7 separate regions of the Homo sapiens genome follow, and regions 2, 3, 4, 5, 6 and 7 are each linked to region 1. The links are contacts of gene promoters, found by promoter capture Hi-C in blood cells and fetal thymus (Javierre and others, 2016). All regions are on one chromosome and are shown on one strand. The core of a region is centred on a gene start or on the middle of the fragment in contact, and the rest is flanking DNA. Distances in the headings are between cores, read along the strand shown.

Region 1 (3,285 bases), core at 782-3,281:
TGAGACCCCGCCTCTACAAAAATTACAAAAATTAGCTGGACAAGATGATTCATGTCTGTCGTCTCAGCTACTCGGGAGGCTGAGGTGAGAGCATCGCTTGAGCCCGGCAGGCGGAGGTTGCAGTGAGCTGAGATCATGCCGCTGCACTCCAGCCTGGGTGACAGAGTGAGACCGTCTCAAAAAAACAAAACCAAAAAACCCAACAACAACAACAATAACAAATCACACACAGGGTTTTGTGTCATGTTAATTTTTTTTTTTTAAACAGGGTATCATGCTGTCGCCCAGGTTGGTGCAATCTTGGCTCACTACAAATTCTCGGGCTCAAGTGAGGCTCCCACCTCAGCTTCCCGAGTAGCTGAGACTACAGGCCTGCACCACCACGCCTGGCTAATTTTTGTATTTTTTGTAGAGACGGGGTCTCACTTTGTTGCCCAGGTTGATCTCAAACTTCTCAGCTCAAGTGATCCGCTCGCCTTGGCCTCTCAAAGTGCTGGGATTACAGGCATGAGCCACCTCTCCAGGCCATGTCCATCCTATTAACATTTGGAAGTGCCTAGCACAGTGTACTCTTTAGAATTGTGGAATAACAATGATTGATGAAATGAAACATATACTTGAAGATGCTACTAGGGTATACGAGATTTTTTTTCTGACTTAGAACTACATCAAAGAAAGAAGGGCCTAAGACCAAGGTTTGGGAATGTACACAATGAATTGCTCAAAAGAGAGTTAGCTTTAGTAATGACAGGAAGAAGCTATTTCTTCAACCAAACAGAATACACACAGAAAAATTTAAAAGAGCCATTACACTGGCTGGCAAAACAGATGTGGATATTATGGCCCTGGTACACACGGAGTTTATAGTCAGGTACACTGTCCTGTCACAACGACCAATACGTTATCGTATTTACAGCGTTTTGGAGTTTCTGTCCATCTCTGTCAATATAATACACTTTGAAATAAGTTTCTTACTTAGAATCCCTAGCAGTGTTTGATACACAGTTGGAGCTCAATAAATGTTTACGGAGTGAATGATGAGGCACAAAAGGAATTTGTTGAATTATTTGTTAAATGAATCAAATAATTTTCTAGGATTCACGGGCTGTCTTCTGCACGATAAGCTTCATTCTGTGGGTCTGAGTTTCTCCTGGTTCTCAATTCTGTCTTTTTGTGGATTATCTACTTTGTAGCTGGAGCTTTGTATCTGTTTAAGATAATTATTCTTCTATTCCTTTTTTTTTTTTTTTTTTTTTGAGACGGAGTCTCGCTCTGCCGCCCAGGCTGGAGTGCAGTAGCGCGATCTCGGCTCACTGCAACCTCCGCCTCCTGGGTTCACGCCACTCTCCTGCCTCAGTCTCCCAAGTAGCTGAGACTACAGGCGCCCACCACCACGCCCGGCTAATTTTTTGTATTTTTAGTAGAGACGGGGTTTCCCCGTGTTAGCCAGGATGGTCTCGATCTCCTGACCTTGTGATCCGCCCGCCTCTGCCTCCCAGAGTGCTGGGATTACAGGCGTGAGCCTCCGCGCCCGGCTCTTCTATTCTTAGTAGAAGCAACCAGTAGCCCTAGCGAAACCAGACGTTAATTCCATTCTCGCAGTTCTTTTCCCCAGGGCAAGCAGCAAAAAATGCATTCCCACAAAAGAGCAAGCTCATCCCCAAATCCCGGGTTTCCCACCCCCACAAGCTTCAGGAAAACAGGAGCGAGGCACGTGAATACTTCTTTGGACCTCAGCGATCCCAGAACCTAGGCTACTAAAACATCCATAGGCTTAACCTCATCATATAACTTAAACAGCCTTCGCAACACCGAGAGCACCACACCAACACCTTCTTATCCAGCCCTGGTTGGGACAAGGGCTCCAACTCCAGACTGCAGTCCTCGGTAGCGCGGTGTCTTCTGGGATCTGTAGGCTCCCGCGGTTCGGCCTTCCTCCCTCTGTGACTCCAATTCCCGGCAGTCAGTGGGCTCCAAGGTCCGCCCTTTTTCTGGAGGAGGAGCTCAGAGCGTACGGGAGGGGGCGGACCCTTGCCCCTCCGGCGCTTGGGCCAGAGTGGTGCGGGCGGCGCGTGGCGGCGATCCCCACGTGGTGGCTTTCTCACGCTAGCCCTCTTTGGTCCTCCTTGACGTCCCGGGCCTGTGGGCCCGCTTTCTGCCGAGATGCCGAAGGTCAAGTCGGGGGCCATCGGCCGCCGCCGCGGGCGGCAGGAGCAGCGCCGGGAGCTGAAGAGCGCTGGAGGTGCGGATCCCCGCGAGGAAGCTGGGGTCGGTCGGGTCAGGTCTTCCGGCAGGACCTAGCCTGGGGTGCGGACCAAGACCTGATCGGCAGAGGCCGGTCAGGACGCGCTCCCGTGAGCGCGGAAGGCAGGGGTGGGTCCCCGACTCGGCCGCAGGCCCTGCGCGTCGCCGCTGACTTCCTTTCCAGCTGGAGGATGAACTTATAAAGAGTTTGTCAGTCCTGGCGTGACGTTTCGTGGCCCTGGTTGGCGCAGAAATCTTCCCCATACCCATGCAGCTTTCTTCTCTGGTACTGCCTAATATCTAATCTCAGTAGGAAAATTAATGCTGTTTCGTATTTTCTTACAGGACTCATGTTCAACACGGGGATTGGGCAGCACATTTTGAAAAATCCTCTCATTATTAACAGCATTATCGATAAGGTGGGTGTGGAAGAGGAAAGGGAGAGAGTTGTTGGTTTATTAATTTTATTCCTATGAATACATAAGCGCAGAAAGTCTGCCTGCCGTAAATTAGATGCTCTGTAAATATTTGTTGAATGAATCAAATAATTGTCTAGGATTCTTGGGCTGTCTTCTGCATGATAAGCTTCATTTTGTGGGTCTGAGTTTCTCCTGGTTCCCAATTCTGTGTCTTTTTGTGGATTATCTACTTTATAGCTGGACCTTTGTATTTGTTCAAGATAATTATTCTTCTATTTCTAATCACCTTTTTGATCACTTAGTTTTTATGTACTCCATCTATTTATGTCTAAACTACACATTAGAAAGTTTGTTCCCCAGAAAAACATATAGTACTACATATAAATTATTTGGTGTATGCTAGTACCACATATAAATTGCTTGGAGTATTACTGCTTTCTGAGTTATTGATGTTCTCTTATGGTTATGGATGATTGGGTGTTAGGAAGTGAAATACACACGGTGCAGATTACACTTATGGTTAAAAGCAAGGAAAGCATCCTGGAGCTGTAGAAAGAGCATTACATAGTTAAAGGATCTTGTCAGGCTTCGTGTCATTTGAAAACTGAGAAAAAAAGAAAGA
Region 2 (3,553 bases), core at 1,041-3,540, 3.5 Mb before region 1:
GCTCATTATGTACATAAGTAAATGGGCTCTGAATAATAATGGCCCTAAAAGTGAAGTCCCCAGACTCTGTCATACCTGTTGTGATTAAGGAGATGTCATTTTTTATTTTCTAGTTTTTCTACTACATTCAATATGCTTTTAAAGCTATAATAAATAACCTCCAGATAAGTAGAGTCTTATTAAGTGAATTTTTAGATATTCTCCTTTTCTATCGTCTTCCACAAAGTGAATTTTTAGATATTCTCCTTTTCTATCGTCTTCCACACTATCACTTAAAGCCTGGCAAGACCTTCATTCAATGGTGTCTGGAACAAAATTTGAAGTGACAAAAATAGAGTGATAGAGTACTATTGTGCTTATTTCATGAAATCAAAGAAAGATAATTTCAAAATTTTAGGGATTCTGTGTCAGAGAAGACATCTAACTTGAAAGGTAGGACAGAAGAGGAAGGTACAGAGAAGAAGGAACAGAGAAATATATCTGTATGTTTTAAGAGGCCAAAAGTATAATAAAACAAGAAGGTAGAGAGGGTTACAAAGTCTTAATACATAAGAATAAATAACAACCTGGTATTATCTTAACAGTCAATTTTAAGAACACTAAAGAGAAAAAGGAAAACTGAGAAAACAAAGTATAAAACAAACAATGGCCGGGAGCGGTGGCTCATGCCTGTAATCCCAGCACTTTGAGAGGCCGAGGTGGGCAGATCACGAGGTCAGGAGATAAAGACCATCCTGGCTAACACGGTGAAACCGCGTCTCTACTAAAAATACAAAAAAATTAGCCGGGCACAGTGGCGGGCGCCTCTAGTCCCAGCTACTCGGGAGGCTGAGGCAGGAGAATGGCGTGAACCTGGGGGAGGCGCAGCTTGCAGTGGGCCAAAATCTTGCCACTGCACTCCAGCCTGGGCGACAGAGCAAGACTCCATCTCAAAATAAACAAAGCAATATACTGATGAATATAAAGTTAAAATACCAGCATGTACACTTAGTTGAAATGCAAAGGGGATATTCAGAATTAAATGGGCTAATAAAATAAGATCAGATAAACTTTTTCCACTGCATGTTTTGAACAGTTTTTTGAGGTGATAAACATAGACTAACAGTTTGGAAAAGAGGGAAATGGCAAAATATAATTAAGAACGACCAACTGAACACAGAGAAAATAAGGCTAGGTAAATGAAGCTAACTATAAATATAGGAAGCTAAGGGAATCAGAAGAGAAAGCTGAATAGCAGCTAAGTTTCTTTTTTACAATTAGGAAACCTAAGAAGAGACAGCTAAAAAGTGAATCTGAAAAATGGGAGTTAGCAGTAGGCCGGGCTCAGTGGCTCACACCTGTAATCCCAGCACTTCGGTAGGCCAAGGTGGGCAGATCACCTGAGGTCGGGAGTTCGAGACCAGCCTGGCCAACATGGCAAAACCTGTCTCTACTAAAAATACAAAAATTAGCTAGGCATGATGATGTGCGCTTGTAATCCCAGCTACTTGGGAGGCTGAAGCAGGAGAATCGCTGGAACCCGGGAGGTGGAGGTTGTGGTGAGTCGAGATTGTGCCACTGCACTCCAGCCTAGGCAACAGAGCAAGACTCCATCTCGAAAAAAAAAAAAAAAAAAAAGAGGAAAAGACAAAGACATCTTTAGAGGTTTATAATAGAGATGTATTCCCAGAAAAAGAAAACGGAAGCAAGCATGTAACAAATTCAAGAAATGAATGAGCAAGGCAAAGAGTCAAAATGCAAGCAGCCAAGTAGGGTATGTAAGGAGAATCTGGATAAGCAGCAATTACGAAAAATAAAAAAGAAACTGCTACCCAGCATCACTAAAATTCTGCATAATCCCAAATACTCTGTAAGTACTGCCATAATCTATTTCCAAAACAAAAGCAGCTTAAAGTCTAAATCGTATTATCCGTAAGCAATTATTTCAAATAAGTAATTTTGAAATATACACCTATTTTCTGAAACTTTTAACTATTTCTTAAAGGGTATTATTTACTACTAATAGTGCAATACCAACAATGTGTAAAATAATCGATTTTTGAGATTTGCCAATGATATATGTTAATGTATCTATAGTTATCACTTCATTAAGAAACAGCATACAATAAAAATTTGGTTTCCATGTTTGTACCTCTGTAAGCTTTTTATACATAAAGTTTACAATAGTTTGATCTCAAATGGCAAGGAGACCTCGTAACAGTACTACTTGAATCAGTTGAAGTCCTGAAAATTCATGATTACCTTCAATAAACAGAGCCTTTAAGTGTGTATTTTGTGCAATATAGACTTTGGAAGTACTCTCTATTTGCCAATTTAATCTTTGAAAATCCACACCATACTAGAAGAATATCCAAATTTTGAAGCCATTTAAAAATATTTTAACGGATGACTCCTCTATTAACCTCTTTTCAAACCTTTGTCACAGTTTAAACAAAGCTTCGAAAATACTTATAGTTTCACAATAGTATAAAACCTAAAATTTAAGTTAATTCGGTGATAAACTAACAGAATTCCAAGAAAACTACGAAGTAAATTATGCCTTGTTGAGGAGAAAAAAAAGAAACACAAAGGTGAACACCTCACTTCATAAAACGTGTTGTCTGCATCGAAACATACTACTCTTCTCCTGAGAAAAAAAATCAAGAACTAAATCTAAAAATAGAGGCTTAAATAGTCATTTTCAAGTGCTACAATACTTTTTTTATACAAAATTTACTAATAAATAACCATCTTCATAAAGCGATAATTCTCTGTAAGGGACTTGCTCTATTAAGGTTTTGTTGCTTTTGAAGCCAAGTATAAGCCATATAAGGAAACTGAAGTTCAATGCCATTTATTTTGTTCACCTCTTTCAGATGCCCAAGAATAACCTCTTTTGCAGCCTAATGATACGTTCCAAAATCATAAAGTAGATGAGTTATGCACTTTAAATTCTTTGATAAAGCTAGTTTGACTTAACAAGAATTATTCCATGGTTCACAAATCTTACCAACAATGAAAAAAAAAAAGAATCTCCTGAGACCATGCCCCGGGGAGGAAAAAAAAAATCAAAACTACAGTAATAAATAAAGGACTGCCTTTGGAGATGTACTTAATGAAGCTGAAGTAGCAAAGAACAAATTGTGAAATAATTTGATCCTGATCTTTAAAACTTATTTTTTCTCTTTGAACTAAAGAAAATCAACTCTCTCCTCGGGTTTCCGGTCATTACGTGAGACAGCATAGGCAATCTAAACATCAATATATATTTAGGATATACCTACCAACAGGATTACCAAATTTATTCAATATATATTCAAAAGTACAGTATTGTATTTCACCTCCCTGTACCGCAAAAATACCGGGAAAAAAAGTAAACAGAAAAAGACTAAAACACCACTGAAAAAAACTTTGGGTTTACTGCTATCAAAACTAGTCCCCATTGGTTCAGAAGTGTTCATAGCTCTGACTGGTGGAATGTCTGCCATGCTTCATGAATCCTGCCCCCACAGATGTAGGCAGAACCTATCACTATTTATGCAGAACCGACCAAAAACATTTGGGACAACACAAA
Region 3 (3,343 bases), core at 536-3,035, 3.3 Mb after region 1:
TTGAATTATGTGAAACTCCTATTTCAAATGGACTGATACTAGAGGAGCAGCCCTCGAGAGATATGCACAGTAATGATTCTTCGTTTTCAAAGACCTGTTTCTTTTTGAAAAGGAAGAAGCCCTGAACAGCATTCCTTTCAAATACACAAAGGTAGCTAAAGTACAACCTTCTCCTCTTTCCTATTTGTTCTTTAAAAAATTGTAAAAATTATATTAAGTGTGCTTCTTGTGATAGAGTCAATAAAGGGAGAAGGAGTTTAGCAAAGCACATTTACTATATACTCTTAACCCGTCTTGCTTACTGTAATAATCGAAAGAAAGATGGCTAATTGTCTTGCAGGAATTTGGGTTATCCTCTGAAAGGATACAAGTAAATTTGTAACTTGGGTCGTATTGGCTATTTTTTGTTCTCTTTTGCTTTCATTTTTGTTTTGTCTGAGGTTTATAAATGGAACCCTTCTTTCCTTTCTTCCTTTTTTCCTTCCTTCCTTCTTCCCTTCCTTTTTTCCTTTCTTCCTTGCTTTCTCTCTCTCTCTCTCTCTCTCTTTTTTTTTTTTTACAATTGTACTTAAAAGAATAAAGGATTCTGAAAATCAGTTCCAGGATCCAATAAGGGCCTAGATTGTATATCACAGGATCAGAGCCCCTTGCTCTCAAATTTATGATTGTGAGGATGTATTATTGTATTTGGGGGATCAATAAGCAGAGCCAGAGCCTTCACACAAGGCTCCTTGTGCCCCCTCCCCCGCTCCATCCCATGAGGTTAAAAAGCACTGACTTTGACTTTAACACTGTGAACAAAATACAGAACAACTGTTTCAATTCCCTTCACTATTTCTGCTATGTGCCTAGATTAGATGTTTTCTGACCTGTCTCCCTAAGTTGTTCCTGTCACTTGTGTCTGTCATTCGCTCCCCCATCGCATCCTGCCCAACCCTCCCTGTCTATGATTCGAATTGCTCTCTGTCCAGATCATTTCCTGCAGTGAAAAACGAAGAAAGACTTTCTCCCTTCTTCCCACCTACACATTCCTTTTGTCCCCCAAGATATCCCTTCCTCTTGCCTGGAATCTTCCCAGGCCTTAATTGATTGATTTAGGCCCCCTTTGCACCAGGCACCCTAGCGGAAGCCCAGAAAGCCCCAAGAGTCTGGATGTGTTTTGGAGAGCAGGCTCAGGTTCACTGCACACTAATTTGCAGCAGGAAGTGCTAGGAAGCCCGATGAGGGATGGGAATTAGCAAATAAGGTTGGCAGTCAATTGACAGAGGAAGCTTAAGGAAGAGGATCATTTTGAAAAGGAAAAATAATTTAATCCTTTTCAGGTGTGTTAATTTCTTTCGTGGACCAAATTACCATGGACCTGGAATAGTTGAGATTTTCCCTAAGGTCTGGCTGTACTTCATAGGGAAGAAGCAAGGGTAAGTGCAGTAAATTTGATTATGGACACCAGTCTAACTCTAGCTTAATGAGCCATGGAAACAAAATAGCTCAATCTCTTCTAACTGCTGTAATGCAACACTAGGAGCATTGAGAGCACTGTGGTTTTGGTTACACAAATTTGTAGTACAGGCCTTGCCTCAGCATTTGAACATTTCAGCAAGAGAGCTGAACTTGCTTCGTTCTTCATGTAGCAGATATAAGTCTTTTGGAATTAATTTGAAAAAAAAAGAAAAGAAAAGAAAAGAAATGTACCCAGAAAGCAAGAGATCTTAAATGTATCCAAAACCTAGAACAAACAAACATTAACATTTGCCATAATTACTGTGGGTGTTTTTAATAAAAATATATAGATAGATAATTTTGGAGGTTGCATTTCCCCACCATCACTGCCAGCCTCATTTTTCTTCCATCCTCTCCAGAACAACCTCTGCCATAAATTTAGGAAATAGTCAACCTGTTCACATTTTCATCTTTTTACTATATATGTTCTTATTCACAAACGAATATGTTGTAGTTATAAAAAGTCATCAGTATCTTTTAGCTTATTTTTTTAAATGCAACATTATGTTTGTTGGATCATTTTACTCTTGTCCCAGTGCACCCTGTAATTCCCATGAATTGACAGGTAGCGATAGATCAGCAGTAGTAAAGTAACTGATATGGGTAGGTTAATAGAATGACCCTTTTAAGAAGGGATCTCAAAGAGGGAGGCTAGGTAAGCTACAAAATTATCAGGGCGAAATGCAGTGAGGTAGAAGTGAAAGCAGCTTAGAGTCAGCCTGGGCTAAGATAAATGAGGAGTGGAGCTGCAGCTGGAGGAGCAAGAGAATATGGTCTACTCGAGTATAAATCAAGCTTGCTGGTGAGCAGTTTAGGACTAGCTCCTGGTTTTACAGCAAGACTTTTTATGTGATCTTGACCAAACCACTGCACTTGATTGCTCCTTTCTACTCCTTGGTCCTCACGTGTCAAATAAAACCCCTGAATTGCAGAGCCAAAATGCAAACAAATAGAACTCCTCACTCAACCTCCCTCAGTTTATAAGTAAGGAAATGAAGACCTAGTAAAACATTATAACTTACAGATACCTGTCAGGGCAGAACCAGAAGCTGGACTTGGGCTAGGAAAAGTTGTTCCCCCCTGATTACATTTTCCAAAGGTTATACCTTTTCCACAGTTTCTAAGGTAACATGTTGATTGACTTGACAGTTGTAGAAATATTAGGAAGTGGTATAAAGCCAAGACCATGTTTACTAAACAGTGCTGCTCTTTTTTTTACATCATACAGATGAGAAAGCTGGTGCTCAGGGAATTTAAGCAACTTGCCCAGAGTCACGTAGCTTAGAAGTGTTAGAGCCAAGATTTGGACCCCAGTCTTTCTCACTTTCACAGACTTGCTTTTAACCACTGTGTTATGCTATGCTGCCTCAGTATAAGCTCCTTTCAAACAAACCACTTCCAGTCTCTGACATGCAAGCCCAGAAGTTTTCAGATTTACAATGGCATACTTTTTTTCTATCTGCTAAGTGTTAGATGTCACGGTGTCTGCAATGGAGTAGAGCTTTAGAAATGAGGATAAAACATTTGGTTTGATGTTAGTATTAAGAACTCCAATATCCAAGGCAGGAAACTTGGTAATTAATATTTTAAATGGACTGGAGGGGTCACAGGTATTAAAATCAATATTTTGATGGCAAGATAACAATGTAGGAACAAATAATTGGAGATGTTTAGCAAAATTATGAATTAAGTAGATGTATAAACGGCAGATTATGAAAGGGAAACAAAGATTACCTGGGAAGAGTTTTGTGTTTTAGTCAACTGAATTACCAGAATGGGCAGAAAAAGGAAGTATCAAAGAAGGGTCTGCTGATAGAAAATTAAATAAAGAAGAAGATGCCAT
Region 4 (3,703 bases), core at 543-3,042, 3.7 Mb before region 1:
CAGTATCATGTACAAAAATATTAGTTGGTGCATTATTTATAACAGGGTTTCTTCACTGGGCTTCAGTGGCCCTATGGATTAGCACAATTCATCCTGTTTAAGACTACTTATAAGTTGCTAACATTTACCCACTAAATGCCAACAGGCCCTCTAATCATTGTTGACAATCAAAAAGACACACCTCCCAATTTCTAGCTAAAATCCACTAATTTGTAATACCAAAAAAAGCAATCAAAATATCCAACAATAGAATTTCAAAAACACACAATACACTCAGAAATTACTAATCTCTAAATATTACTATAAATAAGACAGCAATATGGAAAATGCTTATGACAAAGTGAAAAAAGTAAAATAACAGTGTGATTCCTTTGATTACGCTATATTACATATATTACATAATGATAGCACTATACAATTATTTTTAAAACCAATGAGGTAATATGTCCAATATTTATTAACGCATGTGAAAAGGACTACAGGGAAATGGAGAGAAGCTTTGATAGAGTGGTGGGATCACAAGTGCTGTTTCCTTTTCTCTATTTTCTATAAAGTGGCTTTAGTGGTTACATTTTTTTTAACTAAATAAACTTAAGTAGTTGACAGATTTTTCCATTCTTTCTTAGAACTTTAGAAGACCAGAGAAGTGACGGAAATCAACAAGCAAAAAAAATCAACACAGGAAAAATGTCTAGTGTTACAAATCAGGGTAGGCTTACCCTTCAGGTTTTAGTTACTTGAAGGGGGTCACGGGGAACTTACAGGGTGCAGATAATCCTGACTGTGTGCTGGTTATATAGGTATGTTTACTTTGTAAAGATTCATCAACCTGCGCTTACGACCTGTGCACTTCTCTGTAGGTACATTAAACCTCAATGAAAAATTTACTGAAAAAACAACAAGGATTTCTTACTTGTGTAAGAAAGTTTCACAAGCTGTGAGATTGATTTATTGTGCAAAAAGTTAATAGTAATTCTACATATTTATCAACTGGCAGCACAAAAAAAGGATGACAAACTACAAATAAGAATTCTTAATGCTTACAGTGAATGTTCACAAGAATTCCCTAGCCTTAAAAAATTCTTAACGTTTAAAAGATAAAGATGAAACTCAACCACTGCATCATGCCAAAAGAATTAAATTTAAAATCTGAATTTTCATATTAGCAACTTAAGTCATTTAAGTCATTTTTTTTTAAGAGATAGGGGTCTCAATATGTTACTCAGGTTGGAATCAAACTCCTGGGCTCAAGCTGTTCTCCCACCTCAGCCTCCTGAGTAGCTAGGACTATAGGTGCACACCACCACACCTGGCTCAATCATAAAATTTTAATGAGAAACTATTTTCACATTCTATTAATGTATTTCCAATATACCTGGAAATATGTATTTGAAAATAAATATATTTCCAATTTTAAAACAATTTAAATTTCTACTCAACTCTAAAGATGTCATAAAATAATTTATGTGACACTGCAAAACAATATATTTTCAATACAACTACTACTATTGCATTTTGTATCCATTTCAGTCCAAATTTGCAAACACGTCTTCTAATATAAGGACCAGGCAATGACAACTTCATTACGAAGCAGAAAACCTGTGAATAAAGCATGTCAGTATTGCTGCAAAACATGAATGAGGGATCTAGTATTGCACTTAGGGAAAAACTAGTTAAGGATTTTGCCTGGCCTATATATATTACACGTATGCAACAATTTTGCTTAATGTGTTACAGTTTGTGAAATACACTACCGTAATCTTCCATATGTTTAAGTGAAGAACTTTTTATTCTCTTTGACTTTTAAATTCCAAGTAATAACATCTGATTTCAAAAAAGTGGCCCATTACTGTCAGTTATGGCAATGTGTTGTCACCCAAACCCAGGTTTCAACCAAATAAATATTATGTTGATAATGAAGAACATTCTCCAATATATTTCTTCTACCTATGAGATACCTTATTACCACAGCCTTGAAAGCAAGATTTACAAAGGTTCATGTACAAAGTATTTTACTGATTGATTCCAATGCCTGCAGGATACGGCACTCCCCCAAACAATTCTCAATTATTCTCAACTATTAAGAAATGTTCTGAGAACTTAAATTGAGATGGCTGAAAGCATTTCCAAAAGTTAAGATAATTAAAGCAATAATGCCACGGTTAATCAATCAAAATGTACGTGCGTGCACTTATGCAGTATTCTCGTCAAAAATGTATTACCTGAATCTCGTCACGAATATAAAGATATATATATACACATATCTCTATATACCTCATCTATATATCTCATCTATATAAACTCAGATTATGAGTCATATTACAAGACAAAATGAACTACAAAACAAAATATCAATGTCACGACTTTAGAATCTTTAAAAGGGGACGGGACTGTCCTAGATTAAAGGAGATAACTATTAATACATGGATTACTTGGCATATTCAAGGGAGACAGTGTTATCTAATTACATACTAGATCAAAAGCAGACAAAAAAGCATTATTAAAATAACTGGGGAAATTTTAATAATCAACTGTAGCCAAAAACAGACAAAATGCTCGTAAAAGGAACATGGATGTTCAATGTATTACTCTTTCAACTTTTCTGTATGCATGAAATATTCCAAAACAAAAAGCAGAGAAGAAAAACTTAAAAAGTAAATTTTAAATATCCACACAACTTTTATATAGTTATGCAACAGCACTGTTATAACCTGAGATAGAAAACTAAAGAAAAATAGGTCTAAATGCATCACTAGGAAATAAATCAAAATTTTTTTAAAGAAATAAATCTTGGGTAACAATTACCCCTTCCCTCAAAGGATTTTGATATAATGAACAAAAAACGGAGGATCTTAATACTGTAAGATCTACCATTAAAAAAGAAAAAAAGTTTGTGTGCAAGAATGTGAACAACCTACAAACCCCTTGCGAGTTTTCTAAATAATATCGTACGAGGGAAATTTTACCATTCCAAAATACACTATCTGGGAAGTGGCCGCGAGCTGTGAATGCCAGCCAAGATCTGGACTTTAAATGTATACGGGAGGGATAACCCTGCACCGACTTACACTTTTTCTGAAAGCTTTGGGACAGTGTGACCTTTCAGGAGGAAAATTTAATCTGCTGTCAAAAGGGCTAACAGACATGATCTTTGGGAACATGGATGCGCTCGGTTAGATAAACCAAAATGCTAAGTTTGTGCGACCGTCCTGGGAAACAAACACAGCCCCAGTTCCATCTTGTCACCAGCAGCAGGCTTTCTCGTCAGCAAAACGGCCTGACACCAAGGCCTTAAAAACTGGACTGTGGCTCAGGCGCGGTCTCCGCGATTTTCAGAGTGGAAAAACGCTCTGAGACGTTTGCCATGAGGGCTGTTCCGGGCCCACCTGCGGCCATCTTAAGTTCGGGGGGAAATAAGAGGGTGGGGGCACGGAATTCGAAGACCCAGCAGCGAACACAAGTCCCGGAGGCACAGAAAGGGCAACCATTCTAAATCCTTGGTAAGGGCTCCGTGCAGTAGTTAACCCCCCAAATCCGACTAAGGAGAGCAGGACGGCGGAACCCGGGTGCCCTAATCAAATATGGGCACCAAGGTAAGCCGGCGCGATCACGTGACATGCACCGCGCGCCCGCGTCCGCGCTCTCCTCCACGCCTCGGCTCCCGAGGTCTCTATGGCGCCCGCGCCCCTCCCCCAGCCGAGCT
Region 5 (3,509 bases), core at 843-3,342, 3.8 Mb before region 1:
TCTAAAAATAAAGATAAGTTCAAATATTTAAAAATTAAGTATCATTAGACAAAATTTCATTCTCAACTACAGTATTACAATTAGAACAATATTTAAAGGTAACCACACTTCAGGTGTACACTACTAAAATTTCTAACTTCTGATATTTTGACGAAAACTCATAAAATCTTAATATTTTAAATACAAAACTAAAATAAAATTTAAATATGACAGCAGAAATTCTCACCTGTGTTTTGATTGTGATCTTTTCCTTCTAGAATGGGATTTTGAGCTAGACCTGGATTTTGAGCGAGTATGGGAACGAGATCGACCGCCTTTTCTTTCATTGCTCTTTCCAGACTCTGGGAGGAAAAAATCACTTTGCAGTGTAAGCTCAGAACAATTAAAGATCCCAGTTAATAATCAGGCACAAGTGGAATGTACCACATATAGTGCAAGGGGCCTACTCTCTGTACATCCTCCTCCTTCAGAAACATCCAAGAAAGTCATTGCATAAACTCGTTGAGTGCAGCCACCCTGCAGCAGTACATATAAACCAGATGATTATAAACAGCTGTTCGTAATATTTTGTTGCTGCCGTAACGTACGATTACAACATGTCTGTAATTCCTGTGACAGTGATTTTAAGTCCTTTCTCCACTTATTCTGCTAGAATTTGAAGCTTAAATTCTAAGTGTTGATTTAGAAAATCTGCTCAAATGTAAACCACCTAGATGTTTTTAGAATGGGTTTTTTAATTATTTTCATTAGCAACACAAAAGTTTAAATAGATGTTCTTTTACCTTACTAAAATACAGTATCTGTATTTTTTTCTAAATCACGGGCTCTCTTCTCTACTTCTAAAATTAAAATGTTGAGGAAAAGTAAACCTGCTGAGTCGTAACGTTTTAAATATATGTACTCTTTTTAGCCTTGCAATAACATTTTTGCTTTCAGCAAATCACTTGTGAGCACTGATTTTGCTATGAAAATACAGAGCTGATTAGCTCAGACTAAAGTGCCTCAATTCAGTATCACAGAAAGAGATAAAATATGGGCTAAGTTGTTCTTTGACATGAGTATGCTACTTACTATTTCTTGAGTTTCAGTCTTCTTGTTTGTAAAATGAAGTGACTGAACAAGATGATTTCTAAAATTCCTTCCAGTTCTAAGAGTCTATGATCTTTAAACTATGACCTATGTAACAACGTTATGTACTTACCTGGTTCAATAGCTGCTGAGATAAATGACTGAGCTTCTCGTACTCGCTTCATTACTTCTTCTAACTCCTTAGCTGCAGCCTGAGGTGTCATCTCAGGGGGTTTTACTATTGCATTGTTGGAGTGATTTATTCTAAATTAAAAATATTAGCATATCACAAATACACACCACATTTTATAAAACATGAAACAAACATTTATATGATACACATATTTATAAACGTGAGGACATCTCAGAAGCACGTAAGAATGATATACAGAATAACCAAAAGCAACCTCAAAACCATGATTAATCTCTCATCCCCACTTCCTATCATTCCTTGCGAATACAACCAAAAGCAGGGAGAAAAGAAAAATTGAACCCTAGCTAACTTAATTCAAACAGACTAGATGAAGTGCTTTTCCATAGCTTAGAATTAAAATAAATTAAAATGTTGATACCAATATGAAAATGAATCATTTCTATTTTCAAATCAAAAGATCTTACTGATATCCTGTACACTCTAGAAGAAGGGTAAGCTACCTGTATATCATCATATTATGTACACCATTTTAACCAACGCTGAACCATGGCTGAGTTAGACATAGCTTTGAATGTGCAAGGCATCTGAAAAAATTCTTCCTCTACTAGGTAAGAGTGACTTCTCTGATGCACATGAATGGATATTATGTGTCTTGCTTTACCCCTTCCACACTGGGAAGACAAGTACCCACTAAAAACTTATCCTTAACAGAAAAATCCTGATCAAATTGTATAACTAAAGCAATCTATGAAATTCAAGCAAAACTATATATGCCTCAACAATCTGCATGAAATAGAATTTCTGGTCTGGAGTATCTCGAAGGCCATTATCAACGTTTTACAAACAAGGATGTAAGCAAACCTCAAAAGTCAAAATTTCTGGTTTAAAACATTTCTGGGCACTTATAATTTCCTTCTGTAGATTTTGAATTTACCACAGTTGTTACTGGAAGTACTGTAGTTCAACCCACCTGTTAAGTTGCTCAATTAGTCTAGTGTCATAATGTAAAACCAACCTGACTATTAAAGTTTATGGAAAAAGACCTACAACCGTTATGCAGGGTATATAAATAATGTTAACACTGAATTAGACCCTAGAAAACAGAAAATGAGAAAATAAATGTCTCTAAATAAAGGAATTTAAAGACTAAAATGGTAAGTATCTCATGTATTTCATTTATACTTAACACAAAGTCTTCCTTTCCACAAATTGCCAATTACTATTAAAAAGAAAAAAAAAGCCTTCATTACATCAAAAATACTTTAAATGTTTCAAAATCATTAAAATTTCTTTGTTTAGGATTTCTTACTTCAGTGGCCTGTCTCCAAACATAACTCCATTAAAAGCAAGGGCCCTTGGTACAGAATTTTGGTCTGCAAATTCCACAAAAGCAAACCGAGTTGGCTGAGTCTCATCACCTGCCATCCGCACAAACTTCACTTCTCCAACTTGTTTAAAAAATTCAAGTAGTTGATCAGCTGTCGTTGTCTAAGGGAACAAAGTGACACTTTGATAAAATATATCCATTTAAAAAATCAGATAAATATTACTGTATCCACTGATATGATTTTTAAGAAGAGAAAAAGAATAAGGGCTACTGCTGCTTTGTTTCTTCTTTAATTAGTTACCTGGGAATTCAGATTTCCAACATAAACCGTTCTCCTAATTTCATCTATTTTGGAAGGATCCACGTTTCCCATAAGTGGTGGCTGTGGTATCTCTCCAAGTGTTGCAATGTTGGGGTCTAGTGCTGCTGCTGGTATAGCTCCCAAACTGCTAAGTGAAACACCAAGCTATCGAAAGAAGAAAAAAAACACACAGAACACATATTTTCTATTAGTATCCAAAGATACCATTCTCTAATCTTGAAAAGAATGAACTAACTCAACAAGAATGAAAGGAGACTAGGGACTCCGAACTTTCAGTCATATATATGTCTGAGTTATTAAAGTAAGGTCACATTAGTTTTAAATGTAATTTGAAATATATTTTACTGTCTGGATATTTTAGCCACTTTTAAACTTGACCCTAAAAGACAGGCTGTTTCTCATTACCTGACATAGCTATGTTCTATAGTTTCCGTGAACAATGAATTATTGAATATTGAACCATTATTCCTAGGGAAAATACAGGGTGAAGTTCCTACAAGCCTCTGGTCACATTTACATTAACTAGTAAAATATTTAACCTTATTTTATATGTTCTTCTGTTTAAAGACACCTTAGCTGTTATATATTGTCGATTCATTAACACTGAACTTACAGCCAGCAGCGCTACAATTCAGGCC
Region 6 (3,790 bases), core at 999-3,498, 3.4 Mb after region 1:
CCATCAATGATAGACTGGATTAAGAAAATGTGGCACATATACACCATGGAATACTATGCAGCCATGAAAAAGGATGAGTTCATGTCCTTTGTAGGAACATGGATGAAATTGGAAACCATCATTCTCAGCAAACTATCACAAGGACAAAAAACCAAATACCGCATGTTCTCACTCATAGGTGGGAATTGAACAATGCGAACACATGGACATAGGAAGGGGAACATCACACACCGGGGCCTGCTGTGGGGTGGGGGGAAGGGGGAGGGATAGCATTAGGAGATATACCTAATGTAAATGAGGAGTTAATGGGTGCAGCACACCAACATGGCACATGTATACATATGAAACTAACCTGCACATTGTGCACATGTACCCTAGAACTTAAAGTGTAATAATAAAAAAAATCTGGATCAGTTGTTATAATTTTTTTTGTTTTTTTGAGTCGGAGTCTTCTGCTGTTGTCCAGGTTGGAGTGCAGTGGCCCAATCTCAGCTTACTGCAACCTCTGCCTGCCGGGTTCACGCCATTCTCCTGCCTCAGCCTCCCGAGTAGCTGGGACTACAGGCGCCCGCCACCATGCACGGCTAGTATTTTGTATTTTTAGTAGAGCCAAGGTTTCACTGTGTTAGCCAGGATGGTCTTGATCTCTTGACTTCATGATCTGCCCGCCTTGGCCTCCCAAAGTGCTGGGATTACAGGCGTGAGCCACTGTGCCCGACCTCAGCTGTTATAATTTGTATTTTTTTTTTAAATTAAGGGCATACAAATAGTGTCCAAAATAAGTGGTATTTTTTGGACTTGTTCTCTTCATGTATACCAATAGGTCTATCTAGGAATTATGACAAGCCGATACAGTCCTTTAGCAGACCTTCAAGTGTTGGCAAAGAAACTAATGTCCACATAGTTACACATCCCGTACAGTGGATCCTTTTACCTCAATGGTCAACATCACTGTGAGTTGTGGGTAAGAGTAATGGACTGAACATTTCACAAAAAATGACCTCAACCTCTAGCTAACTGCTGTGGCTCTGAGGTGATTACTTTTTTCCTTTTTCAAAAGGAAGCTGCTTCTTCAGCATCTTCTCCTGGAGCCCCTGGCACAGTTTCAGGCCATGTGTCAGGGGAACCTCTAAGCATATCACTGTGACAGAAGCCAAGTGCTGGCCCGCAAGAATTGAGGACTGTTTGTTCACAGAAGAGCCTCAGCAGAATGCGGGTGTTACATAGTTCAAAGGTGCCTTGAAGAAAACTGATGCTGTTGTAGCAGGGGCCTTCAAGGCTCAATTTATTTCTCAGTTGCTGTTCCATAGCCCTCTCCCAGCCTTTAGGGAGTTTAGCCAATAGTTTTTGCTTGGGTGTTTTTCTCTGTTTAGTTCCTTGACTTAGCAAGATTTGGTGCAGTTAAAGAGTTTTCATGTATTTTTAAGGAGAGCCACAGTGTATACTACTCTGGCAGGGGTTGAGGGGAAGTATTTTATTAATGAATGCAGTATGTGTTCTTGGTAAAAGCCAAAATTAAACTGGCTCACTGTTTTTGTCCTGCTAGCTGTCGACATTTAGGTGTGTTGCTTGGTGTGGTGACTCAATTTCCTGTGGGATAGTTGGCAACTCCACTTTGAGGTTTGTTCGGCGGGATGAAAAGGTCAGTTACTTGATGTCTTAGAACACTTGGGGTTAAAATTCCTAAAAGTGAAGCTTTACAAATGATCCTGAAAAATCGTGGCTAGCTATATTGCCTACTCACCTAGGAATTTGGAAAAAAGCAATATTCTCAGCTCTATGCTAATATCAAGAATAATTCTTTATTTGAGCAACAGTTTCACAGAGCAAACTTTACTCTGTTAGTAATTATTTTCTCACTAGCATGTAGATGTGTTCCAGTGATTTTTCATTTTTCTTATTTATACAGATGTTAGAACTTAAAATATATGCTTACCCCATTTTATCATCATACTCAAATCCTGTCTGTCAAAAGTGGCTGGTGCATGGCTTGGACATAAAATGGATATTCTGAAGTAAATTGTTCCTCCTGTCACTATACTACCTTCTTAAGAACAAATCCTGTGTATAAAGTGCATGATGTCTTGAAGCATTAGCCAAAACTTTCCTGAATTATTTTCCACATTAAAAAATAACAACTGAAATATAATGTGTGGAGCCACATCCTGTTAGATTTGAAGCCTGAGTCTGAACAGCTTTGGGAACTTGGTGAAGATGGAGGAAGGGGGCAGTTTACTTAGCTACTGGGAAATCACTTGAGGCTCAGGCTTTGAGAAAGTTGGAGTGCAGGGGAGAGGAGCCACAGAAAGCCGAACCTCAGAGGGGACTCCCAGCTTCATTGTAACCAATGATTGAAAAGATGGCACTGAACAAATCCCAGACACAATGGTTATGCATCTTTAATCCACTGGATAGGCTAACTATGGACAGCTCAAATGATCATAAAACAAGTCAATGTCCTCTTAAAATTTCCTACATTCCTATATTATGGGAATGAGAGAGAGAGGAAAATATCAAAACCAAACCATATAGTAGATGCACTACCATGGCAACTAGGTGATGCTATACTTGCATATGGAAGTTATTCAGTAAAATGAAAATGATTGTGTTAGAGCCATAGGCGAAAGTATTGTTTGTGATCTTTAGGGTGTGGGGTTACAATGGACTTCCTATATTTGTGTGTAATGCTTCAATTTTTATAACAAGCATGTAATATTTTTTACATTCTTAGAATTGGGGAAGCTATACAGAGCAGGTATTTTATATTTACCATTTAAAATTATTAATATCTTTAAGCTTGTTAAGGGGGAAAAAAAAGCTTCAATCTGAAACTTTAATTCACCTGGCAAGGTTTAGGCAGTTGTTTGTCCATCTAAAGTATATATTTACATAGACTGCGGGGTGGAGGAAGTAGAACAAAAAAGAGGCAAATTTTAACCTAGAGTACTCAAAGTGAACAGTAAATAGTTCAAGTATTCTTGATAACAATAAGCCACGTGGCACATGTAACAACTACTTTAAAAGTTACTCTAACTTTTACAAAGTTCACATAAAAAGCTATCTCAAAAATCCCAGGAGCCTAAATTCAGTCCATGAACTTTATTTGTTGTGCCATGTTAATTTATGGAGTCTAAATTTCAAGGGCAGAATTTCTTCTCCAATACCTGTAGATTCAAAGACAAAGACAAGGGATCCCACCACTTAGTGTAAGTTTCTCAGTATCTTCTTTCCACTCGACAATGACAAAGTTTTATCAAATGGACCCTTGGGAGTTTGACTTCTCCTCACTATGAATGGTTTGCTTATTGCATGCTAATGTAGAAAAGTTCTCCCACAACTGATCTGCTTAGGGACAGTGTCCCTGGTGCCCTGGGTCAGCCTTTGTAAACAGAACAGGCTTTTCTGTATGCCTTTGAATATGGTCTTTCCGTTTTCTCAAAATTGTAGTGTACTCTGCACATGGTGGGTAGAAACACCCTTCCAGATTTTCTTCCTTGGCCCAAGATCATCTAGGTCTTATGCAATTCACAGGGGAAAGGAGTAGTATGCAGGACATGCGTAAATTCTCCTTACCATGTGGTTCTTTCACATTGCTGTTCCTTTAAGAGAACTCTTAGGCAATTCGGCATATGAAAATGCAGCCTATTGTCAAATTTGTGAATTATAAAGCGTTCCGACCCCACAACATTGTATATTTTGTTTGCTTGTTTCTGTCCGCCCCAACATTTAGAAGTCTGGTACTTAGTAGGGACTGGGCTGGGTAGAAAAAGAATGCGGTCTTAATTCCCAC
Region 7 (3,411 bases), core at 316-2,815, 4.8 Mb before region 1:
GTTCATATGTGCCTCTTGAGCACTTGAAATGTAGACTGAGAAACTGAATATTGAATTTTATTTCATTTTAACTTGTTTAAACATTAAACATTATTACTCGATTCAGTGGTTGAAAAACTCTTAAGTGTGCCTGGAACAACTTGGTTATGTCAATCTAGTTTTTTGGCTATGAATTTTATGAAATCTAAATACGGATCAAATATTTCCAATGAAAATATAGGGCCAAAATTGAGATGTGCTGGAAATGTAAAACAAGCCCTGGATTTTGAAGACATAGTATAAAGTTAGAAGGTGAACATCTCATTAATATTTCACATCAGTTACATTGATTTTATATGATTGCAATAATATTTTGATATATTGAGTTAAATAAAATATATTCCTGAAATTAATTAATTTTTCACTTTGGGGCAGGGAGGACTGCCATGTCATTTATTAAGAGAAAGCAAAATGAAGCAAGGAGCTGCTCTGGGAACACACAGGGTGATGGCACAAGAACACAATAGCTAGTGTGTCCCACAGTCCCGGAGGCCCCTGCCCGCTTCCTCCACCAGGGCCTGCCCAGGGTCTCAGGGTGGCCTCCCTACCCTGCTTCCCTCCAGACCCCTTCCATCCCCTTGGAAGGGCATCCTCCCTCCTTACAGGGCCAGGTATTTTTCTCTGGATTTAACCAGACAACGACATTTTATTTTCTGTTCATCTCCTCCAACCACCCAACTCCCACCTCCTCCCACTTCTCTTCCCTGCCTCCCTTTTGACTGAAGAATCCCTGCTCCCTTGGTCTTCCAGTGAGGCCGCAGTGACTAAAGGGGACCCCTTCCCATCCACTCATCCCCACCCTGGTCCAGTTTCCCAGACCCCGATGCAGTTGGTTGTAAATTCTTCCAGGAGCTGTTTTCTGTCTCCTTTTTGGGAATTTTTTTAAAGTAAAAAACTTAAAACAGAAGTTTAAAAAGCAAAATGTGGAAGAAGAAAGCAATGACAGATTTGTTTCGTGGTTTTTTTTTTCTTTCTAAGGTGGGCTACTAGAAAACTTACAGTTGCATATGTGGCTCCCATTTCTACTGGGCAGTGCTGCTCAGAAGGATGTGCAGGGTTCGCCCAGGCAAGGAGACCCATGTTTAAGGAGATGACAGAGGCTGGGAGAGCACTGCCTAAGAGAAAGCCTAGGGGACGAGGCTGGGATGGGGTCACAGAGCATCGGGCTGGCACTCTCCCACCTCGCTCTGCCCTTGACTCCGACTATGACTAAATGGACATTTTTCATGGGCAAGGAAGGAGACAGGATTAAAAGTTTTCTTCAAAGCATTGGGCAAAACTGGTTGTTTTGGTGGGTTTTTTTTCCCTTCTTCGGGCTTCCCTGATGCCTTCTTTCTCTTGTTTGATCTCTGGGGCCAGACTCCCTAGGTTCAAGCCCCAACCCATCCATACAGTGAATGACCTTGGGCAATTTACTTAGCTTCCTTGTGTTTCTTTGCCTAGAAAAGACTACTCAGAGTCTAGGCATAGGATTACATTAGTTTGCATCTCTAAAATACTTAGAACAGTACCTGGCAATAGTAAGCACTATGTGCTAGATACTCATTTCTCAGACAAGAGGGGGATAAAAGGTAAATTTTAATGAGCTTTCTTATGAAAATGGTAAATGCTTCATATTCTATTAATTTAAAAAACATCAGCAACCTTCCAAATTCAATTCTGCTGATGAAAGTATATGTATTTTTTTTTAAAAGATGACAATCCAAAAAAAAAAAAGGTGCATCTATTTGGGAAGTGTGGGCCATGGCCAGGCTATTTTCTTGTTAGAATTCTGGATTGGGAGCAGGCCATCTCCTGCCCTGGAAAACAACCAGCTCTTCAAGAATCCAGCTCCACTGCACCCACACAGAGCTTGAGGCCTGGGGATAGCAGGTGCCTTAACCGCTTGTCATAGGTCTGAATTGCAATGGAGCTCAGTCATTTCCCGTATCAGCACACCATTTTGACTTCACATTTTGACCTCTCCAGAAACTAGCAAACCGCAGTGCCCCACCCAGCTGTACAGGTTTCTCTGAAAAACCACAGCCTAGGCTATCTCCAAATCAATTCTGAGAGTAGTTTTGTCATGACTGACTCACTTGAAGCAAACATTTTTTGTCATTTGTTCAGTTTCTTTATTGACTCTTGACTATTTAATGTGCATGTTTCAAAGTTACAAGTCAGCCTCGCTTTATACAGCCAAGATATGTGTAGTTAAATTTTTAAAAATCAAGTCATCAAAAAACTTGCACCACGTTTGTTACAGTTGAAAGAAATTCTACAAGGAACTCTAGTCTGTGAGCACAGTCACAAATAATATGAGTCCTTTGATAAATTAATGTTTATCAGTTCTACAAATTAAAAGTGTTATGGTAGATTTGTTTAAAGCAAATTAAACTATATTTAGAAGGTGGGAACAGAAATTTTACAATTTCCTCTTTTTACTTCTTTTTTTGTTTGTTTGTTCATTAATTATAGACTGCAACAGGAACTACAGTAGTTATGTTCCAACGAGAAAAACTATGCTAGAATTTGAAACTAGAATGTTAGAATATCACCATACTTGGCCATTGCTGATGGCATCTCTCTGTAAGGACTTTTTCGCTACCTTGATGTCTGTTTATGGCTGGTCTGATCATGGTATATGCTTATTCTGCCATATAAACTGGATTTTTTCTCTGGTTGAAAACCCAAGACACACCAGTTCTTAGCTTCTTATTTTCTTCTCCATAGGCTCCATATCTTGCATCTCATTTGGGGAAAAAGTCAAAAAGCTAGATTTGCCCTACCTCAGAGGTGAACTGCCTACCACATTGGCCAATGTCAGGGCTGTGGGGCATGTCACATCTCAGGGGGCTGGAGCCCACCACTCCCTGACTTACCTCCTACAAACACATCCCACGGTGCCTCAGCTGGACACTAGGTCCCAGACCCTGAACTGGAAGAAGCTCAGAGCCGGGATCTCAGGCAGGTTTCCTCTTTGATGGTGCTGGCTGCTGAGATGATCAGGCATCTGAGCAACCCCAAGGACTCAGATGAGTGGGCCCCAACGAGACACTGAGGGAAGAAAACAAATGGGTGCTACCTGGGCCTTCCACAGACCAAGAAAGATGATGATCCCACAGAAACAAAGTTCTGGTGAATGAGGAACAAATGGGAAGGTATGACAATGAAAAGCCACAGCTTAAAGTGAGGTTCAACAATAAAAACGAATATAAAAATCTGAGGGGATGAAAGCTTAAAGAGGCCCAATTAAAGCAAGAACTGAATGCTGACCAAACTGGCCTTACAGGAAAAAGACTTTCAGAAAGAAAATGCAATCGAAGTGAAATGAACGACAGGCAAAGAAACAAATGCAACCTATAAAAATCAAAGAAAAATAATGAAGATGTG

Evidence for each region. The method cuts DNA at HindIII sites, captures the fragments that hold promoters and counts their contacts. A CHiCAGO score of 5 or more calls a contact.
Region 2: a contact is called between a fragment that was not itself captured here and the fragment with the promoter of DIMT1 in region 1, in 1 of 17 cell types (fetal thymus). The highest score is 6.2, in fetal thymus.
Region 3: a contact is called between a fragment that was not itself captured here and the fragment with the promoter of DIMT1 in region 1, in 2 of 17 cell types (naive CD4 T cells and activated CD4 T cells). The highest score is 9.0, in naive CD4 T cells.
Region 4: a fragment that was not itself captured here is called in contact with the fragment with the promoter of DIMT1 in region 1 in 2 of 17 cell types (non-activated CD4 T cells and naive CD8 T cells); the score reaches 8.4 in non-activated CD4 T cells.
Region 5: a contact is called between a fragment that was not itself captured here and the fragment with the promoter of DIMT1 in region 1, in 1 of 17 cell types (naive CD8 T cells). The highest score is 5.0, in naive CD8 T cells.
Region 6: a fragment that was not itself captured here is called in contact with the fragment with the promoter of DIMT1 in region 1 in 2 of 17 cell types (total CD8 T cells and naive CD8 T cells); the score reaches 9.6 in total CD8 T cells.
Region 7: a fragment that was not itself captured here is called in contact with the fragment with the promoter of DIMT1 in region 1 in 1 of 17 cell types (naive CD8 T cells); the score reaches 5.6 in naive CD8 T cells.

The regions. Positions count from the first base shown.
Region 1 is chr5:62,402,651-62,405,935 of GRCh38, reverse strand. It overlaps DIMT1 (DIM1 rRNA methyltransferase and ribosome maturation factor), which reads left to right and starts at 2,031. Exons shown (of 12, transcript NM_014473.4): 1 at 2,031-2,242; 2 at 2,590-2,663. The coding sequence starts at 2,164. RefSeq lists an enhancer at 1,821-2,110. The HindIII fragment of the contact is 1,140 bases long and covers 1,692-2,831 here.
Region 2 is chr5:65,927,702-65,931,254 of GRCh38, reverse strand. The region is part of intron 1 of ERBIN (erbb2 interacting protein); the gene reads right to left. Among named protein-coding and RNA genes, the nearest start is that of ERBIN, 2.9 kb to the right of the region's middle. The HindIII fragment of the contact is 296 bases long and covers 2,143-2,438 here.
Region 3 is chr5:59,123,311-59,126,653 of GRCh38, reverse strand. The region is part of intron 5 of PDE4D (phosphodiesterase 4D); the gene reads left to right. Among named protein-coding and RNA genes, the nearest start is that of PDE4D-AS1, 85 kb to the right of the region's middle. The HindIII fragment of the contact is 1,024 bases long and covers 1,274-2,297 here.
Region 4 is chr5:66,144,549-66,148,251 of GRCh38, reverse strand. All of the region lies in intron 1 of SREK1 (splicing regulatory glutamic acid and lysine rich protein 1), which reads right to left. Among named protein-coding and RNA genes, the nearest start is that of SREK1, 2.1 kb to the right of the region's middle. RefSeq lists enhancers at 3,212-3,261, 3,322-3,381, 3,642-3,703. The HindIII fragment of the contact is 2,585 bases long and covers 500-3,084 here.
Region 5 is chr5:66,161,615-66,165,123 of GRCh38, reverse strand. It overlaps SREK1 (splicing regulatory glutamic acid and lysine rich protein 1), which reads right to left. Exons shown (of 12, transcript NM_001077199.3): 4 at 2,851-3,015; 5 at 2,532-2,710; 6 at 1,202-1,332; 7 at 227-341. Among named protein-coding and RNA genes, the nearest start is that of SREK1, 19 kb to the right of the region's middle. The HindIII fragment of the contact is 2,857 bases long and covers 664-3,509 here.
Region 6 is chr5:59,040,172-59,043,961 of GRCh38, reverse strand. All of the region lies in intron 5 of PDE4D (phosphodiesterase 4D), which reads left to right. All of the region lies in intron 1 of PDE4D-AS1 (PDE4D antisense RNA 1), which reads right to left. Among named protein-coding and RNA genes, the nearest start is that of PDE4D-AS1, 2.3 kb to the right of the region's middle. The HindIII fragment of the contact is 1,101 bases long and covers 1,698-2,798 here.
Region 7 is chr5:67,205,744-67,209,154 of GRCh38, reverse strand. No RefSeq gene overlaps it. Among named protein-coding and RNA genes, the nearest start is that of CD180, 11 kb to the right of the region's middle. RefSeq lists an enhancer at 1,806-3,005. The HindIII fragment of the contact is 3,384 bases long and covers 1-3,257 here.